2 separate regions of the Homo sapiens genome follow, and region 1 is linked to region 2. Evidence: promoter capture Hi-C in 16 types of primary human blood cells and fetal thymus (Javierre and others, 2016). All regions are on one chromosome and are shown on one strand. Each heading gives the region's core, a stretch centred on a gene start or on the middle of the fragment in contact. The rest is flanking DNA. Distances are from core to core; before and after follow the strand shown. Region 1 holds the start of ITPRIPL1 (ITPRIP like 1). Region 2 holds the start of STARD7-AS1 (STARD7 antisense RNA 1).

Region 1 (5,100 bases), core at 1,697-4,196, 120 kb after region 2:
TTTTTTTTTCTTTTTTTGAGAAGGAGTTTTATTCTGTTGCCCAGGCTGGAGTGCAGTGGTGCGATCTCAGCTCACTGCAACCTCCACCTCCCGGATTCAAGCGATTCTCCTGCCTCAGCCTCCTGAGTAGCTGGGATCACCGGCATGCACCACCACGCCCAGCTAATTTTTTTTTTTTTTTTTTGTATTTTTAGTAGAGACGGGGTTTCACCGTGCTGGCCAGGCTGGTAGCTGGGATCACAGGCATGCACCGCCACACCCAGCTAATTTTTTTTTTTTTTTTTTTGTATTTTTAGTAGAGACGGGGTTTCACCATGCTGGCCAGGCTGGTCTCGAACTCCTGACCTCAGGTGATCTGCCTGCCTCGGCCTCCCAGAGTGCTGGGATTACAGGCGTGAGCCATCGCGCCTGTCCAGCAACCACTTTTAAAACAAATCCTTAACCATGAACACACATTTTTAAGCATATGGTTTTACAGATGCTGGTGAAAATGGGGAGAAAAGGGAACTCTGATATGCTGTTGGGTAAACTAGCACAGCTGCTATGGAGAATAACATGGAGGTTCCTCAGAAAACTACAAGTAGAACTACTCACATGATCTAGCAATCCCATTACTTAAAATCTATCCAAAGGAAAGGAAATCATTATATCAAAGAGAAATCTGCACCCTCATGTTTATAGCTGCACTATTCAGAATAGCCAATATGGAATTGACCTATGTGTCCAACAATAGATGAATGAATAAGGAAAACGTGGTATATGTACACAATGGAATGCTATTTGGCCATAAAAAAAAATGAAATCCTGTCATTTGCAGCAACTTGGATGGAATTGGAGGATATTAAGTGAAATAAGCCAGGCACAGAAAGATAAACACCACATGTTCTCAGTCACATGTGGAACCTAGAAAAAGTTGATGTAATAGAAGTAAAAGGTAGAACAGAGGATGCTAGAGGCTGGGAAGGGGAGGGGAAGGTGGTGATAGGGAGGGATTTGTTAAAGGATTCAAGATTATAGCCAGATGGGAGGACTAAGTACTAGGGTTTCACACCACTGTAGGTTGACTACAGTTAACAATAATAGACCAGGCATGGTGGCTCATGCCTGTAATCCCAGCACTTTGGGAGGCCAAGGTGGGCAGATTGCTTGAGCTCAGGAGCTCGAGAACATGGTGAAACCCCCACTCTACTAAAATACAAAAAAATTGCCGGGCTTGGTGGTGTGTGCCTGTAATCCCAGCTATTTGGGAGGCTGAGGCAGGAAAACTGCTTGACCCAGGAGGTGGAGGTTGCAGTGAGCTGAGATGGTGCCACTGCACTCCAGCCTGGGTGACAGAGCAAGACTCCGTCACACACACACACAAAATAATAATAGTAATAATATATAGTTTCAAATAGCTAGAGGGAGGATTGAACCTTCCCAACACAAAGAAATGATAAATGTTTGAGATGATGGATATGCTAATTACCCTAATCTGAAATTATACATTGTATGTATGAAACATGACTGTGCACCCTATGAATATGTACAATTATTATTTGTTAATTAAAATAATACAACTTTAAAACACATGGTCTTAAACATTATCGTTTTTGCACACTCTGAAGCATATATTTTGCATCCTGACATCATGTCATAAGTGAAAAGATAAGAGACTTTCATTATTACTGCTCCAAATGCATGAATGCTCAATAACCTGTGATCTATTTTTCATAATTCACATTTATAAAAAGTAACTTTGGAACTTCAGTCATTGTCAGCTAGCAGACAGTTTTTCCTGCTCCACAATTAAATAAGTCAGTATTCTTGGAAGTATTGTACAAGTTGTTTGGGAGCTCCCTACACATTGCCACTGGATAAGAAGACCTGAAACCCAGCCATGTGTGATGGCTTACACATATAATCCCAGCATTTTGGGAGGCCGAGGCGGGCAGATCACCTGAGGTCAGGAGTTCGAGACCAGCATGGCCAACATGGTGAAACCCCGTCTTTACTAAAAATACAAAAATTAGCTGGACATGGTGGCATACACCTGTGGTCCCAGCTACTCAGTAGGCTGAGGCAGGAGAATCACTGGAACCTGGGGCGGGTAGGCTGCAGTGAGCCAAGATGGTGCCACTACACTCCAGCCTGGGTGACAGAGCGAAACTCTTTCTCAAAAACAAACAAACAAATAAAAACCCTGAAACTTGTCTTTCAGCAGAGGGATTTTAGTGAGTTAGTATCAAGGGGTCATCACTTCCTTTTCTTCTTGGATAGCTGACACAAGACAGGAAGACTAAGGGCTCTTTCTGATATCTGAAGATCCCTTTCAGGAAACCCATTCTGTTGTGTTTCTTAAGGTGTGATAAAGCTTGTCCAGCCTCCACACCGTATAAAGTTCTCCTTTATACACCCATGTATCAGCAGAGCTGCCCTGTAGGTAGGATTCTTACTCCCACGTGGCCAGTGAGTAGCAAGCAAGGCCCCAAGTAAGGTCTTTGGGTGCTGTCTGTTCTTTCATGAGAGTCACTTTGATATGAGAAAGGGGTTGGGGAAAGATGCCTGAGTCTGGGCGTGGGCTGGGAGGGAAGCACATTTAGGGTGCTGAAACCACATCTTATTTCGTGTGCCATTTTGCTCAGGGCCAGCCCGAAGTGAGAATGGCTTTTCTCGGTCAATTCCTAGTTTTGCCACCATCATCCTTACACCCGAATCCTAGTAAGTCTGTTCTCCACTGAACTGAGCTGAGTGCAGCTGACAGCAGGCACGGCGGTGCCCCATTTGCCACCCCAGGGAGGCCGAGCAGCGGAGAGTGTGTGGCCACGGCCCCTCCACTCTCCCAGCAAACCCACGGGGGCCTCGGTGCGGACAGAGACCCGGTGTGGGGAGGCCGCTGCCCCTGCACGCTGGGCCACGGGGGTTTGGGCGGGGAGGAGCTTGTACTGGGTGGGCGGGGAGGAGCCCGGACGGCGGGAGCGGCTGCGGCGCGCGGGCGCCCTCGGAGCCGCGTGCTGGGGGTCGTAGGGGCCCACCGCGCTCAGCCAGACGTTCAGACGCTCGGACAAGCATGGTCTATAACCCAGGAAAGGGGAGCAGGGCCACTCCCGCGGGCGGCCCCAGCGATGAACCGGACGCCCCCACCCTGCCGGGAAAAAAGCAGTGGCGGTCAGGCCGCGCTGTCTCTTTAAGATCGTGTTCCTACTAACACTGACGGTGAGTAACCTGGCCCTGGGTCCCGGGAGACATCCCGAGGTAGGATGGGCCCTTGGCCTCCTACGGATAGGCGGGTGAGAGTACAAATCTCTGGGCGTGGAATTTGGGGAAGTTATGAATGGGGGGAGGGTCGGGTTCCGATTTGAGCCAAAGCCCCCAGGTACCTTGTACATTTTAACAGGGCTCCTAGAGAGGGCGGGGAGACGAAGCAAGGCCAAGTTCCAAAGGGAGGATAGGCCCAGCTGGCTTCAGCGTCCACACGGCATAGTCCTTCATGAATGTTGGTAAGCGCGGTAGCTTGTGAATTAGGGTGAGTGGCAGAAGCTCGGGCTTCACGGGTGGGTGGGGAGGCAGTGGAACTGACCACTGCCGGCTGTCAGGTAGGCCTTGGGCACCTGGTTCTGCAGACAGTTTTCTGAACTAAGAAGTGAAGCTAGCCTGCCCACACACGGGGTATCCACTAGCCCCTTAGGAGCAGAGAGGGCACCGTAGCAAGCAGCTGGCGGCACTGTGCCTCTCTTGCGCTCCCTGGGCAGAGAGGGAGAGGCTGAGTGATGAGGCTCACTTCATACTGGGTGAGCAGAATGAAGACTGTGAAGTCACAGAGGAAGTGGAATGCTACAACTGGCTGCCGGGGCAGAGGAAAGGTGTCACCCAGGCAGGTTCAGGGCTTTCTGGCTATAAAAGGGAGCCTCTGGGATCAGCAGGTCATATCTGGTGCCCATGGTTGACTGAGGAGTCGGGTGAGGCCACCCTACCACAAGGGTCCCCCTCCCCATCCTACACAGGAATGAAAACAGTCCCATGTACACTTTCTGGAAGCCTAAATACCACCCACACCATGTGGAAGGAAAGCAGGAGAGAGACTGAGTGGCACATCCTTTCGCCCTCTTTTCTCTCGAACCTCCTCCCAGGCCGACCACCCTTGCTGTGTCCAAGCCAAGCTCTGTGGGCTTTCTGTTCCTCCTGAGTAGCTGATTTTCAGAATTTGGGGTACCAGGGCTCTGGGGAATGTGAGCTAGAGAGCAGATAAGTCTGGAAGATGACCACTGACTCCTACTCTCCTACTTCTCCAGATGCAGAGGCCTCCATGGCTGTGATAAGCCTGCTGTTCTTGGCAGTGATGTATGTTGTTCACCACCCTCTGATGGTCAGTGATCGGATGGACCTGGACACATTAGCCAGGAGTCGGCAGCTGGAGAAGCGAATGAGTGAGGAGATGCGCCTGCTAGAGATGGAGTTTGAAGAGAGAAAGCGAGCCGCTGAGCAGAGGCAGAAGGCAGAGAACTTCTGGACAGGAGACACATCCAGTGACCAGTTAGTGCTGGGGAAGAAAGACATGGGGTGGCCGTTCCAGGCCGATGGCCAGGAAGGGCCTCTGGGCTGGATGCTGGGAAACCTGTGGAACACTGGCCTCTTTTGCCTTTTTCTCGTCTTTGAGCTCCTGCGACAGAACATGCAGCATGAACCGGCCTTTGATTCCAGCAGTGAGGAGGAGGAGGAGGAAGTCCGTGTTGTCCCTGTCACCTCTTACAACTGGCTTACTGACTTCCCCTCCCAGGAGGCCCTGGACTCCTTTTACAAACACTATGTCCAAAATGCCATCCGTGACCTGCCCTGCACCTGTGAGTTTGTGGAGAGTTTTGTGGATGATCTCATTGAGGCCTGTCGGGTGCTCAGCCGCCAAGAGGCTCACCCACAATTGGAAGACTGCCTGGGCATCGGGGCTGCCTTTGAGAAATGGGGAACCCTCCATGAGACCCAGAAATTTGATATCCTGGTGCCCATTGTCCCCCCACAGGGCACCATGTTTGTCCTGGAGATGAGGGACCCAGCCCTGGGCCGCCGCTGTGGCTGTGTGCTGGTGGAGTCAGAATGTGTGTGCAAGCGTGAGAAACTCCTAGG
Region 2 (4,769 bases), core at 117-2,616:
AGTTGCATTTATAAAAGTTATCTTTCCTGCTAGGAAAAGTATTCCCAGTTCTTAAGATAGACTTGCATTTACCCACAATTCATAGTGTGGCACAAATAGCTGCCTGGCATCTGGGTGTTACACCTCCCACACAGGCCATGGTATAAACTTTATTGGGGTATTTCCATTTTTAACCTAACAAAAAATGTGGAATAACAGGTTGTTTCCCTGTGGAGGAAATATCAAGAATAAACAGGCGAGTGTGGAATCTGCGGAGGGAGGGGATTGTCTCTGGTTCCCGAAATCACGGCAAAGTACTTTCTGTGCAGGGAGGGCACAGTTTAAGAATATCTGTTGCAAAGAAAATACAGACACAAGGTAAACCAAAAACCAAAGCAAAGTTTCCCCATGACATTACCTGGAAACTACAGTCTCAGAACTACAGATTAACAAACGTAATCAATGGTACTGGGCTTTTCACAGTTTTGATGACGACAGCATGACTTCAGAGTCTAATGGGACACTATTCCCAAAGTTCTAGTTAACGTCGCAAAAATCTGACCTAATTCTTACAGGTTCAAATGTCTGGGCTGCTGGTTTGTGTAACCTGGACAAAATCGCTTCCAGGCTCTCAATTTTGCCACGAGTCACGATGACAGAGGGCTCTCCTGGCTTTTCTCACAGGCCTGAGTCCCATCTGGATTGAAGTCATTTTGCAAATAGCAGCCCACCACCCTTAGGCCAAATTTAAAATTTGTTTTGAATTTGCACCTTTCTGGTTGTGTTAAAGATTACAGATTACATGAACAAGGGCCTCCATGCCTTCGCTATCTAATTGATTTCTACAGTGTTGTTTCTTTACTGTCTTGCTCGCCCCACTCAAAGTCTCCCTCCTACACACCAGCCTACACACTTTCAGTTCTATTTTATAACCCGACAAATGCAAATTGACACACAGAGACAAATAACAACGCGGTTTGCTGAAGCAGGTTCAATCGACTGTATTGCCAATTAAAAGACCACCGGGTAAACAAGGGCCAACGACCACAGGGCAGGCCCCAGGGTTCACAAGCCCCCCCACCCCACGGCCCAGAAAGAGCTCGCCGCAGCGCCCACCTCTGCAACTCCTCCTCCTGGATCCTCTCCTCGTCCCAAACGAAGACGCCGGCTAACGCCGCCATCAAGGCAGAGGCATGGCCAGGACGGCCGTGCAGCCGGCGCCAGAGGCGGCCGAGGAGAACGCGGCGTGAGCTCTCGGAGTAGAGGCGGCCGTAGAGCTGCGCGATCTGCTGCGCGCGCCGCACGCGCAGGCCCGTGACGAAGCGGCACTGATTGGCCAGAAGCGCCAGCAGGCCCCCGCCCCGCGTCCCCGCCAGCCAGGCGGCCAGCAGCCTCCGCGGGAGCATGCCGCCTCCCGCAGGGCCCGCCGCGAGCTTCCGGGGCCCAAGGAACCAGTCCGGAGGGGCGCAGGCGGTGGTCGCAGCGTCCCCCTAAATGGCCGGCCACGAACCCGTCTCACGGTCCCGCGGCCAGGAGCCGCCGCTCATCTGTCTCTGCAGCCACCGCTGAGGAAGAGTCTCCTCTGAGGGGAGAGTCGGTCATGGCAGCAGACGCCGGGATGGCTCCGCGACTGCTACACCAGGCACTCCTGGGCCCGGGCAGCAGACCAGTCAGCCCTGTGGCTCCTCGGCGACCTCCAGCGGGCGCCCGGGGCCGGGATGCAGGGCGCGCGGACAGAAACGAGACAGACAGCTCAGGCCCAGCAGCACGCAAGCTCCCGCGCCTTCCGCGACTGCCACACGCGCGGCGCGCGCGCACCCTACTTTTTCTCCGCCACCTGGGCCGTGATTGGGCGCGACCTGGGCTCCTGGGTGCTCATTGGCGCCGTGAAGTGCTCGTCACCGCCCCCTCCTGCCCCTTCATGCATGCGCGGAGGCCGCCTGCTAGCAAGGTAGGTGGCTCGGCGGCGAGAGCCGTCAAGGGCGCATTGGAGAGTGACCCTCGGACCCGGCTGCCGCCGTCGCCGCCATCTTCCGGCCGTCCCAGCCCCGCCCCGCGGAGAAACCTGGCCAGGTTCCTGTTAGAATCCTGCCAGGTGTTAACTTGTTTTAAGAGGCCGGCACGCTGGCCCCCTTCTTTATTAGAGTGCAGGGTGGGGGCGGGGCTCCGCATGTCTCTGCGGGGGCTGGGGGCTCCCAGTGATAACCGCCATTGCAGAATTAAAACTGAGACAGTGAAAGAGATCTGACCTAACCAATTCCATCTTGCTTCTGTCCTTGTTCATTCCTGAGCTTAGGTGAACTAATTTTGGGAGGAACTTAGTTTATAGTTTAAAATAAAGAGGATAACAGCCCTTTCCCAAAACAAATCTTCTTATCTGGGAACTAGACTGCCTTTGTAGGACTAATAAGTTAGCCATAAGATTGGAAATTATGGTTTAGGAGTCATGCAGCTGGAGGCTACGATATTGTGATCCCCCTAAACTGCTCTTAAGATCAGTGCTTGAGATATTTTGCTGACCCCGCACTGGTTGGATCCTGGCACCACCCAGATGGATAAACTGGCTCATCTGACCTTGTGGCCCCCACCCAGGAACCAACTCAGTGCAAGAGGACAGCTTCAATTCCCTATTATTTCATCTCGACCCAACCAGTCAACACTCTGGACTCACTGGCCTTCCCCCACCCACCAAATTATCCTTAAACACTCTGATCCCGGAATGCTAAGGGAGACTGATTGAGTAATGTTGAAACAAACTCCAGTCTCATAGTGGGCTCTGCGTGAATTACTCTTTATTGCAGTTCCCCTGTCTTGATAAATCGGCTCTGTCTAGGCAGTGGGCAAGGTGAACCCATTGTACGGTTACAAATTTGGGGGTTCGTCTGGGATACCCCTTGTGGCTACCTGTCCATGGTTCGGTAGCCCCACCTCTGGTGACAGATCCAGAGGCCAGCCTAAGCGGCCACATAGTTCTCTTGGACTAGGGGCTAACTCTGGCACCGTCTCTGCCAGTGGGGCACTGCTAGCCCAATATGCATGGACTTAATCGCAATGGAGAAATAGTCCTGGGGAGACATCCCATAACTGTAGCCCTGTCACAGGGTATCTGTAGCTCCATAGCGGGGCGCTGTAGCCAGGTCATGGAGTGTCTGTAGCTATAGCCCCATCATGGGGTGGCAGGTTGCTGAGTATCCTAGGTGCTGCCAGTGCCTCCTTCCTTCTCCGGACTGATTCTGTAGCCACATGGTGGGTGTCTGTAGCTCCACCATGGGGTGTCTGTCTCAGTTTGGCTCCTGGGGCATCCCAGTTGGCTGTCCCTAACTAGGAAGAGTCTTGGTTCGGGAGACTTCTCAATCAGGAATATTTCAGGGAGATTTGTCAGATGGAGAATAGGAGGATAGTTTGGAAGGGGTACTCTTGGAGTTCTTGGTTAGGGACCTTAATTTGGAAGGCCTTCTGTCTGTCTTGTCTTCGTGTGTGTGTTTGTATATATGGAGGGGATCTCTGAAGGAATTGCTGATGAAAATCCAGCAGGCCTAACTTGGAGAACACTCCTTATTTATCTAGTCACATTCAGTGAGCCCTGAAAGAAGTTTAACAGGCCTGATTCAGGGTGACTGCTCAGAGACCACCCATTGAATTCACGATTCAATGACCCACCGTGCCTGGCCTTAAAAGGATTTTTTCTTAGAAAAAAGAGCTCTAGGCCGGGCATGGTGGCTCACACTTTTAATCCCAGCACTTTGGGAGGCCAAGGCGGGCGGATCACGAGGTCAGAAGATCCAGACCATCCTGGCTAACACGGTGAAACCTCGTCTCTACTAAAAATACAAAAAATTAGCCGGGCGTGGTAGTGGGCACCTGTAATCCTAGCTACTCGGGAGGCTGAGGCAGGAGAATGGCGTGAACCCGGGAGGTGGAGCTTGCAGCAGTGAGCCGAGATCGCGCCACTACACTCCACCCTGGGCGACAGAGCGAGACTCCGTCTCAAAAAAAAAAAAAACAAAGTTGACTTATAGAGCCAATAAGCCAAAAAATTGACTTATAGAGCCCCTTGGGAAATCTGGCCTCATACTATGTCAACACAGTCCCTGTACGAGGTTCCTGACCTGTGGTAAGTAAAGAATGTCACTTTCTAACAGGCTCAGGAGACCTAAGTTATCTTGACACCTCAAGAGGAGAGGAATTTACCCAACTCATAGGTATTCGAGGGTACAAACCCATGGCTGGGCTTGGCTTTAAAAAGGTCTTATCTAAGATTTCTTATGGAACAGAGTTCCATCAAAGCCAATTTTAAAAGCCTATGTGAAGGCCAGGCGCAGTGGCTCACACCTGTTATCCCAGCACTTTGGGAGGCCAAGGCAGGCAGATCACAATGTTAGGAGTTTGAGACTAGCCTGGCCAACATGGTGAAACCCTGTCTCTACTGAAAATACAAAAAGTTAGCTGGGCGTGGTGGCAGATACCTGTAATCCCAGATACTTGGAAGACTGAGGCAGGAGAATCGCCTGAGCCTGGGAGGCGGAGGTTGCAGTAAGCCACGATCGCACCACCGCACTCTAGCCTGGGCCACGAAGCAAGACTTCATCTCAAAAAAAAAAACAAAGCCTATGTGAAAAATAATTATTCTTGCTTCACTTTATGCAAATCATCAGGCCAAGTACAATAAGACTGCGGTTTATTTTGTAAACAAATCAGTTCTATCATGATTTGTTTTTAGTAAAAATGGGAACTGGAGAGAGAAAAATTATGCTTCAGAAGAAAAACTGTGGTACACCTTTTGTTAACTG

Evidence for each region. Contacts are between HindIII fragments. The CHiCAGO score rates a contact against its expected background, and 5 or more counts as called.
Region 1: a contact is called between the fragment with the promoter of ITPRIPL1 here and the fragment with the promoter of STARD7-AS1 in region 2, in 4 of 17 cell types (neutrophils, monocytes, erythroblasts and 1 more). The highest score is 13.0, in neutrophils.

What each region holds. Positions count from the first base shown.
Region 1 is chr2:96,322,371-96,327,470 of GRCh38, forward strand. ITPRIPL1 (ITPRIP like 1) reads left to right here and starts at 2,947. Exons shown (of 3, transcript NM_001008949.3): 1 at 2,947-3,195; 2 at 3,377-3,479; 3 at 4,272-5,100. The coding sequence starts at 3,470. RefSeq lists a silencer at 2,862-3,111 and an enhancer at 3,134-3,634. The HindIII fragment of the contact is 6,653 bases long and covers 2,352-5,100 here.
Region 2 is chr2:96,207,050-96,211,818 of GRCh38, forward strand. It overlaps STARD7-AS1 (STARD7 antisense RNA 1), which reads left to right and starts at 1,367. Exons shown (of 4, transcript NR_046322.1): 1 at 1,367-1,930. STARD7 (StAR related lipid transfer domain containing 7) reads right to left here and starts at 1,778. Exons shown (of 8, transcript NM_020151.4): 1 at 1,096-1,778. The coding sequence starts at 1,385. RefSeq lists silencers at 1,195-1,454, 1,805-2,024 and an enhancer at 1,472-2,062. The HindIII fragment of the contact is 17,331 bases long and covers 1-4,769 here.